Regions from separate parts of the Homo sapiens genome. Here regions 1 and 2 are each linked to region 3. Evidence: promoter capture Hi-C in 16 types of primary human blood cells and fetal thymus (Javierre and others, 2016). All regions are on one chromosome and are shown on one strand. Each heading gives the region's core, a stretch centred on a gene start or on the middle of the fragment in contact. The rest is flanking DNA. Distances are from core to core; before and after follow the strand shown. Region 1 overlaps DENND5B (DENN domain containing 5B). Region 2 overlaps DENND5B (DENN domain containing 5B). Region 3 holds the start of DENND5B-AS1 (DENND5B antisense RNA 1).

Region 1 (2,700 bases), core at 7-2,506, 140 kb after region 3:
TTTAATAGGAAGTAGTTACATATCATGAAGGCTTGTGAGCAGTGTTGATCAGTAGAAATATTTAGTCCTAAAGCAATGTCAGATTGAGGTGTTGAGTAAATTTTTATCATGTAATACTTATTGAGCTCTTCTGAATTTTTTTTAATTTAATGGTGTTAAAAGTGAGAAGCAACTTATCAGAATGCCCTATTATAGAGTTCTCGTTTGTTTTGGAGAAAGGGCTTTTTGGTTTTCTTCAATACATTTTCATAACACAGTTTGTATTTCCTGTTCTACTTTGAGATAATCAAAGCCCCAGCTTGGGCCCTTCTTAAGCAGACATAGGAGACTTTTGTGGGATCATGAAGACAGACCAGTAGCTATGGTGTTGGAACTCCTACTTTGTAGTACACTCAGCTCAGCAGTGATTTCATGACCATAATAAGCTTTAAAATTTCAGAAAATGTATCATTTTCCCTTTTCATAGGAGGAGGAGAGGGATAGAAAAAGGTAGTAGGAAGGCATTAGTGAAGGTGATAGTACAAAATCTAAGTGGTGGGAGGTTGCTGGTTAACATTTAGATTAGCAAATTAGTAAATTTTTTCTTCCATTTTAAAGATACTGAATTGGCCGGGCGCGGTGGCTCACGCCTGTAATCCCAGCACTTTGGGACGCCAAGGTGGGCGGATCACAAGGTCAGGAGATCGAGACCATCCTGGCTAACACGGTGAAACCCTGTCTCTGCTAAAAATACAAAAAAAATTAGCCGGGCGTGGTGGCAGGCACCTGTAGTCCCAGCTACTTGGGAGGCTGAGGCAGGAGAATGGCGTGAACCCAGGAGGCAGAGGTTGCAGTGAGCCAAGATCGCACCACTGCACTCCAGCCTGGGCAACAGAGCAAGACTCCATCTCAAAAAAAAAAAAAAAAAAAAAAAAGATACTGAATCATCCATTCAAATTATGTGACCTTCATTTAAGCCTTTCAGTGTAAAGAATGGTGTAGGCCGGCCAGGCGCAGTGGCTCACACCTATAATCCCAGCACTGTGAGAGGCTGAGGCAGGTGGATTACGAGGTCAGGAGTTCAAGACCAGCCTGGCCAAGATGGTGAAACCCCATCTCTACTAAGAATATAAAAAAATTACCCAGGCATGGTGGTGGACACCTGTAATCCCAGCTACGCGGGAGGCTGAGGCAGACAATTGCTCGAACCCAGGAGGCAGAGTTTGCAGTGAGCTGAGATCGCACCACTACACTCCAGCCTGGGTGACAGAGCAAGACTACATCTCAAAAAAAGAAAAGAAAAGAATGGTGTAGGCAGTGCTACTGTCTTCAGCAAGATGCGACATTTCAGCTCTTTATTTATTTAGAGAAAACTGCTGACATTGGAGGTGAGGAAAAATAGCAGGGAAAGGCCATAAGCCACCAGGCTGTTTGAGGGTGCACATTTGGAACAGGTGCCAGGAAGTCACCTAATTTCTTGGGCCTCGGTTTCTTCATCTGCAAAATTAAAAGACTGGATTCAAAGATTACATCAGGCTTTAGGAATCATTGTTGATCATCTGGCTTTGAAAGGAGGGAAACCGAAATTTTTTTTTTTTTTTTTTTGGCCAAAGTCTCGCTGTGTTTTGCCCAGGCTGGAGTGCAGTGGCACGATCTTAGCTCACTGCAACCTCTGCCTCCTGAGGTCAAGTGATTATCCTGCCTTAGCCTCCCGAGTAGCTGGGATTACAGGTGCATGCCACCATGCCCAGCTAATTTTTATATTTTTAGTAGAGACAGAGTTTCACCATGTTGGCCAGACTGGTCTTGAACTCCTGACCTCAAGTCATCCTCCCGCCTCAGCCTCCCAAAGTGCTGGAATTACAGGCATGAGGCACCATGCTAGGCCTCATTTTGAGTTTTTATTGAGCTTAATTTAGAGTTTCACTATGCTGCTTGCTAATTGGTATCTAACATGAAGAGCAAGGATCAAAAGAGAAAAACAAAGACCCGACTGGTTGCTTTCCCCTTTCCCCTTACTTTGCCGTCTAGGATCAGAGAGCAGTGTGAATTTTCCCCTTGGTGCCTGGGGGTGGGGGAGCCAGGGAGAAACACATAGTGAAGCTTCCTATTTTGTTTATTAACTTCCACCCCATGTCTTATGTTCAACCATTGATGTAATCAATATTATTTTTATGTGATGGGCTACACTTTTGGCACTCCACCCCCCAATCTAGAAACACAACCTTCTTTTTAACTAACAACCTTGTCCTGATTAAGAGAGTATGGACAGTAGAGGTTAAATACTGTTTGAAGTCTACTACAGATACCTGAGGGATAATCAGAACTTTATACATATGCTTGGCCTCTTGAATTTTCTATATCTACTTGAAAAATATTTAAAATATTTATTCAAAATAAATTCCAAATGTAGAGTGTAAACAAACTCAAACATTTCTTCTGATTTCTGTCACCTCTTCTACTCAACTCAAAAATATCTTGTGTGAACTCTTAATTATTCAAAGGTTAATCAAGTGCATAGTTACATATGCACTTGCCTCTACCACCTCTCTCTGCCTCCTGCATTAGGTATAATGACTTCTGAAATGGTTTTGCTCTAGGAGGTTTAGTGAATTTTGAGTAAAGTTAAAATTTGTGGATTATCTGTGAATTGGATTGATTTTGCCAGTTTCATCCTATTGGGAGATACTACAGCTGCTGGTTTTTGGTGATTATTGTCAA
Region 2 (2,700 bases), core at 114-2,613, 200 kb after region 3:
GAAAATAAATTCCTGGGAGCATATTTATTGTTCTACCATGAAACATCGACCCCTAAAATCAATGATAAAGTAATGATATTGGCTTCAGGACTGACTGTATGCAAAGCATCGTTAGTGTTTCCATAATAAATTAAGTGATGAATCTTTCTATATATGAAGTGTTGACACATATTGTGACATAATTCTGACTTTTTTCCTCAGAGAAAGTGGTTGCTTATTTTGAAACAACTGACCAGATTCTAGATAATGAAGATGATGTCCTTATTCAGAAATCATCCTGCAAAACCTTCTGCCACTACGTAAATGCTATTAATACTGCACCCAGGAACATTGGGAAGGATGGCAAATTCCAGATTTTAGTTTGCCTTGGAACAAGGTACAAAACCAGTTTTTTATTTTCCCTATCTTTGTCACATGTTGAACTAGAGTCCAGAAAAGGTTATACCAGATCATACCCCTTCCAGAGCTCTCCTTTGGGTTTCTTTCCTTTTACTTTTTCTTTTGAAACAGAGTCTCACTCCATCGCCTAGGCTGGAGTACCGTGGCATAATCTTGGCTCACTGCAACCTCTGCCTCCTCCCTTGGGTTTCTTTAATTCACCACCACCACTACATGAGGTAGCAACCGATTTTTTCATTTTAAAGATGAGAAAGTAGAAAATAGATGAGGCACACGTAAGTTAGCAGACTTTCCCAAGATCACACAGAAAAATGAGACAGAGCCAGGTTCACACCCTGTCCCACTTCAGAGCCCAAGCTCTCCACCATGACTGTATACTGGCTCGACAGATAGATAGGTAATAAGGAAGTTGTTAGATAACTAGACACATACACTGTACATATTTACTAAGTAAACCTTATATAGTGTATATATACCACTATATTTACATTTAATAACATTATGGGATTCTTGCTATATAAATATCATCTTCTCTTTAAGACTATTTCCTACCCCTTTATTTTTTGAAAGTGGCACATAGGAGCGATACAATCCATTACTTTTAAAACAGATCTCAGAATTGTAAGAAATGAAACATACAGACCTTTAGATTTCTTTTTTTAAGTTACCCATGTAGTATTTGTTTTTTCCTGAACCTTAAGAGCCCCAACTTGAGACTGAAGATGGCCTGATTGGGGATGCTCAATAAGGATGTCTTAGGAACTTAGCAATGGGTTACTAATGTCAGGTTTGATCAGGAAACATTGAAGATGTGAGGTTTTATCTTCCTGAAACAGCTGGTTTACAGAACTAAGTTCTGTATTTCTTCTTCATAAAAGGAGCCCAGTTTTAGCTGTGCTTTTAAAGTTTCTTTTGAGCATGATCTTTATCTCCTTTTATCTCTATACTCTTCTGATTTATTAGACCATTGCAAACTCTCATCTGGTTTATAAAATCTACTTAATGTTTTTCTGCTTTGATTTTGTTCCTCACCCTGTTATGTTATATAAGTTAAAAAAAAAAAAAAAAAAAAAAGCAAGTCCCTACAGTTTAGTGTAGTCTTTCTTCCAAAAGGTCAGTATACTGTGGCATGCCTTGCCACAGAGTAACACTCCTATTAAAAAAAAAGACATAGAAAATGACATTCTGCCTCTTTCTAAAGGTGGTAAAATCAGAATAGAGAATGTCTTTAATGTGCATAGACTTTCTAATGTACTTTAAACTCTTAAAGTACATTAAATTGGGTTTAAAATAATGGGTTTTCCCTTTAGCTTTCTTTACACTGTCTCATCACTGTCTTTTTACCAGAAAATATTCAACTTCTTGGCTTTGATTTCCTCTCTCCTGACCTCTTAGCTTGGATACATTTTGTACCATCAAGTCCCACACCTTCCCATTCATACAGACTCCACTGTGTGCCTTGTTCTGCAGCGAGGCCAGCAATGCTCAGGAATTGTTTCTGTTTGGGTCTGTAGGGATCGCCTGCTCCCACAGTGGATTCCATTGTTAGCTGAGTGTCCTGCCATCACTCGAATGTATGAAGAGAGCGCTCTCCTGCGAGACCGCATGACTGTCAACTCCCTTATCCGAATTCTGCAGACCATTCAGGACTTCACCATAGTCCTAGAAGGATCACTCATCAAAGGAGTGGATGTGTAACCCAACTGGCTAGAAACTCTCAGTCCAAACCTTGCTCCTTCCCCAACTAGGGGACCGATTTGGACTTGTCTGACAGTAGTGAGTCACTGCAGGGGCAGCCAAACATATGCCCCATTTGGAACAATCCTCACTCTACAGACAAGGCAAAATGTTGTATTGTAGTTCATTTGAACCTGGAATTTAGTATAAAATAGAGTATTTTCATGTGTTAGATGTGTGTAAATATGCTATCTTCTTTAAGAAATTATATTACTCTAATAAGATGCTTTTCTTAGATTGAATATTCCTGTGACTTAAAATAAGTAGCTTAAAAATGTTGGGGGTTGGGGGGAAGAGTGGTGCTAGCCAGGAAGAAGCCAGTAAACATGTAAATATAGTGCAACCCAGTCGGGCTTTTTTTTTTCTCCAGGTATCACAAAGAAACCCAGAATGCATTGTTATGTAGTAGCCATCCATCTTGGAGTCTGATCCTTTGTATTGTGGATGCACACAGCTTTACCTACTGTACTGGTAGTCTTCACTTCTATCTTTTAAGTTACAAACTGTTTTATATATTTGAATCGCTAGTCACTTTTCCAGTCTTTTGGAAAAAAATTTCAGTCC
Region 3 (2,712 bases), core at 186-2,685:
GTCGCCCTCGATGCCGCAGCCGGGGCCAGTGGGCACGAATGCGGCCCCACGCCAGGCTTGGCCTCCGAACCCGCTAGGCGCGCGCGCACGGTAGAAGCGCGCGCCTCCGTCCCTCGCGAGCGCGCCCCCCACCCCTCTCCGTCGCACGCGCCGAGCCCCGGCGCCCCCGCCCGCCCCGCGCTCCCACAGCCCGAGCGCCGCTCAGCTGACCCGCGGGCGCCAGACGCGGCGGCTCTCAGCTCGCGAGCGCAGCTGCGGCTGCGAGGGCCTCTCAGGCCGACACTCCCCCCGCGCCCCTCCCCCACCCGGCCGGGCTCCGGACCCGCCGCGCGCGAGCCCGCGGCCGCTTCCCCCGCGCCGAGCGAGGAGGCAGGCTGCGGCGGCGAGAGGCGGCTGCGCGGCCATGGGCGCGCCAGTGTCGCCCTAGGGCGGGCGCACAGACCACAGCCGGAGCGGTGGTGGCAGCCTCCGCAGAAAGCCTTCCCGGGCGGCGGCGGCGGCGGCCCCTGGAGCAGCGCGGCCGGGATGAGCGGGAGCTGCGCGGCGCCCGGCCCGGGCTCGGGCTCCTCCCCGGCCGCCTGCCGCTTCGCGCACTACTTCGTGCTGTGCGGGATCGACGCGGACAGCGGGCTGGAGCCTGACGAGCTGGCGGGTAAGGCCAGGGCTGCGGCGGCGCTGAGCCCCCTCAGGGGCGCGGGGGACGCTGTGGGGACGCGCGGGAGGCGGGGTGCAGGCTCCAGACAAAGTCAGCTCCCGGTGGCGCCCTCCCGCCGCTTTCTGGCCGAACTGGCGCTCGGGCGCGATTTAATGACATTGTTATTTATTCCGCGTGCGGGCTTTGCGGCTGCGCCCACCGGGGCTTTCGCCTCCAGGCGCTGGGTTATTAATAACAGGCGCGGGGGTGGCCCCAAGGGCACGGACCCCGCCTGGCGCGCCGGCCCCTTCGCTTGCAGCCGCACTCGGAGGCGGCCGGTGAGTCACCGGGCGCGCGGGCTGCCCCCCGACCGCCGTGCCTGCCTCCCACCCGCCAGCCACCCGGCCCCGGCCGCGAAGTTTCGGCCCCGCACGTGACGCGGCTTTCGGGCCTCTTCGGGAGACGGGGAGTCGGACTCAGCTCGGCTCCCGCCGGGGTAGCGTCCGCGGAGGAGCCGGTGGCCGTGCGGAGCGAGCGCGGGGCGGGGACCGGTCGGACTCTGCCCTCTGCGCCGCCTGCCGCTCTGCGGTGCCGGCCAAGTCACCTTTTGGAATCCTGTGGATTTGGCCGCGTCTGGGAGCTGGCAGGGACCTTTGGACGCTCGGGACCCAGCACCGCGCTTTGTTGACACTGCCTACACTGTTCCCGAGTTTAAATTCAGTTGGGTGCACCGTGTGTTAGTGCCTGGTTTTCCCGGAGGGGTACCGGTCCTTCCGCTTGACTCATTTGATGGCGCAGTGCGGGGCTGTGCTGGGCAAACGACGCCGTTAAAAGGGGCCGCTAAAGGGCGATGGGCGGGGGCAGGGCAGCGGAGTGCGCAGTGTCGAGAGGAGGCCGGGGAGAAACAACTGATTTCATTTTTCACGCCTGTTCCTTTCTGCTTGCCTCCGCGGGATCTGAATCTTGATTTGTTGTTGTTGTTAAATGGGTGAGAGAAGTGACATCTACCGCCTGAACTTTGTGTTAAAGACTTAGGTCATAGCCTTTCAGAACAACTTCCTTTGGACAAATAATTCCTTATTGATTGCACTAACGTAAATTTTTCGCTTTTCCTTTGGTGGGGGTGGGGAGACTGGGAAGAATATATTAAATAATAAACAATAGTAAACAAAACTGTTCAGCCTTAAAATACAGTCCCCATCAACCCACGTCTTGGCTATCTTCTTCTTAACTCAGCTTCAGAGCAAAACATTTTCTTTTTTTCATATTCTTCGGAGGTAGAAACACAAAACATTTTCAACAAAAACTGTAAGTCTAGTTTTAGTTAAAAAAAAATTTGGAGAGATAATAGAATACCAAGTTTTTCCGTATGTGTAATTATGTAATCACATTGTTTCTTCAACTAAGATTTCATGTACATGTTAAGAATGGCTTTGTTAAAGGATATGAAGAAAAAATGTCTGCAGAGAGATTTGGAGAGATTCTTCTCGAGATTGGTGAAGGAATATTGTTATTTTTCTAGACTCCTTTCTTCCCTAAAGATCCTAAACATTTGTGGCACCAGGGTCACTTGGAGGCCTTCTGTCAGTGATGACTAATGAAAGGAAAAAAGCCTGTATTTTTCTTTTCCGTTTGCCTACTGAAGCTAAAACTGTACCTTTTAGGTGTGACCTAGGACTCTTTAGGCACAGAGAGAATGATGTTAACAAAACCATCAATTAGACTTTAATGCATTTTTAAGAAACAAACTATGATGTCTCTTTTTGCAAAACTGTGTGAGTGTGGGTGATTGGGATTTCTGCTTCTCATAATATTTAATGTATTCAGGTAATAATGTATTTTGCCTTGTAATATTTCAGTATCATTCATCCAACAGTTTTGAAAGCATCTATCTGTAGTCGGTTTTTTAGGCACTGGGGACAGCTGTGAAGAAAGCAGTCAGAAATCCCTGCCATCATGGAGCATACGTTCTAGTGTAAAGAGATAATGAAAATACAATCATCTCTCCGTAACCATGGGGGATGGATTCTAGAGTGTCCCCCACACCAAAATCCTCGGATGCTGAAGTCTCTTATAAT

Evidence for each region. Contacts are between HindIII fragments. The CHiCAGO score rates a contact against its expected background, and 5 or more counts as called.
Region 1: a fragment that was not itself captured here is called in contact with the fragment with the promoter of DENND5B-AS1 in region 3 in 1 of 17 cell types (endothelial precursors); the score reaches 7.4 in endothelial precursors.
Region 2: a contact is called between a fragment that was not itself captured here and the fragment with the promoter of DENND5B-AS1 in region 3, in 1 of 17 cell types (endothelial precursors). The highest score is 5.6, in endothelial precursors.

Annotation. Positions count from the first base shown.
Region 1 is chr12:31,453,027-31,455,726 of GRCh38, reverse strand. All of the region lies in intron 4 of DENND5B (DENN domain containing 5B), which reads left to right. Among named protein-coding and RNA genes, the nearest start is that of LINC02387, 85 kb to the right of the region's middle. The HindIII fragment of the contact is 1,657 bases long and covers 428-2,084 here.
Region 2 is chr12:31,387,000-31,389,699 of GRCh38, reverse strand. DENND5B (DENN domain containing 5B) reads left to right here. Exons shown (of 21, transcript NM_144973.4): 20 at 202-376; 21 at 1,914-2,700. The coding sequence ends at 2,097. Among named protein-coding and RNA genes, the nearest start is that of LINC02387, 19 kb to the right of the region's middle. The HindIII fragment of the contact is 3,687 bases long and covers 1-2,700 here.
Region 3 is chr12:31,588,646-31,591,357 of GRCh38, reverse strand. DENND5B-AS1 (DENND5B antisense RNA 1) reads right to left here and starts at 1,435. Exons shown (of 3, transcript NR_046909.1): 1 at 1,239-1,435. DENND5B (DENN domain containing 5B) reads left to right here and starts at 222. Exons shown (of 21, transcript NM_144973.4): 1 at 222-652. The coding sequence starts at 526. RefSeq lists silencers at 72-361, 432-701, 852-1,191 and an enhancer at 1,622-1,701. The HindIII fragment of the contact is 7,998 bases long and covers 1-2,712 here.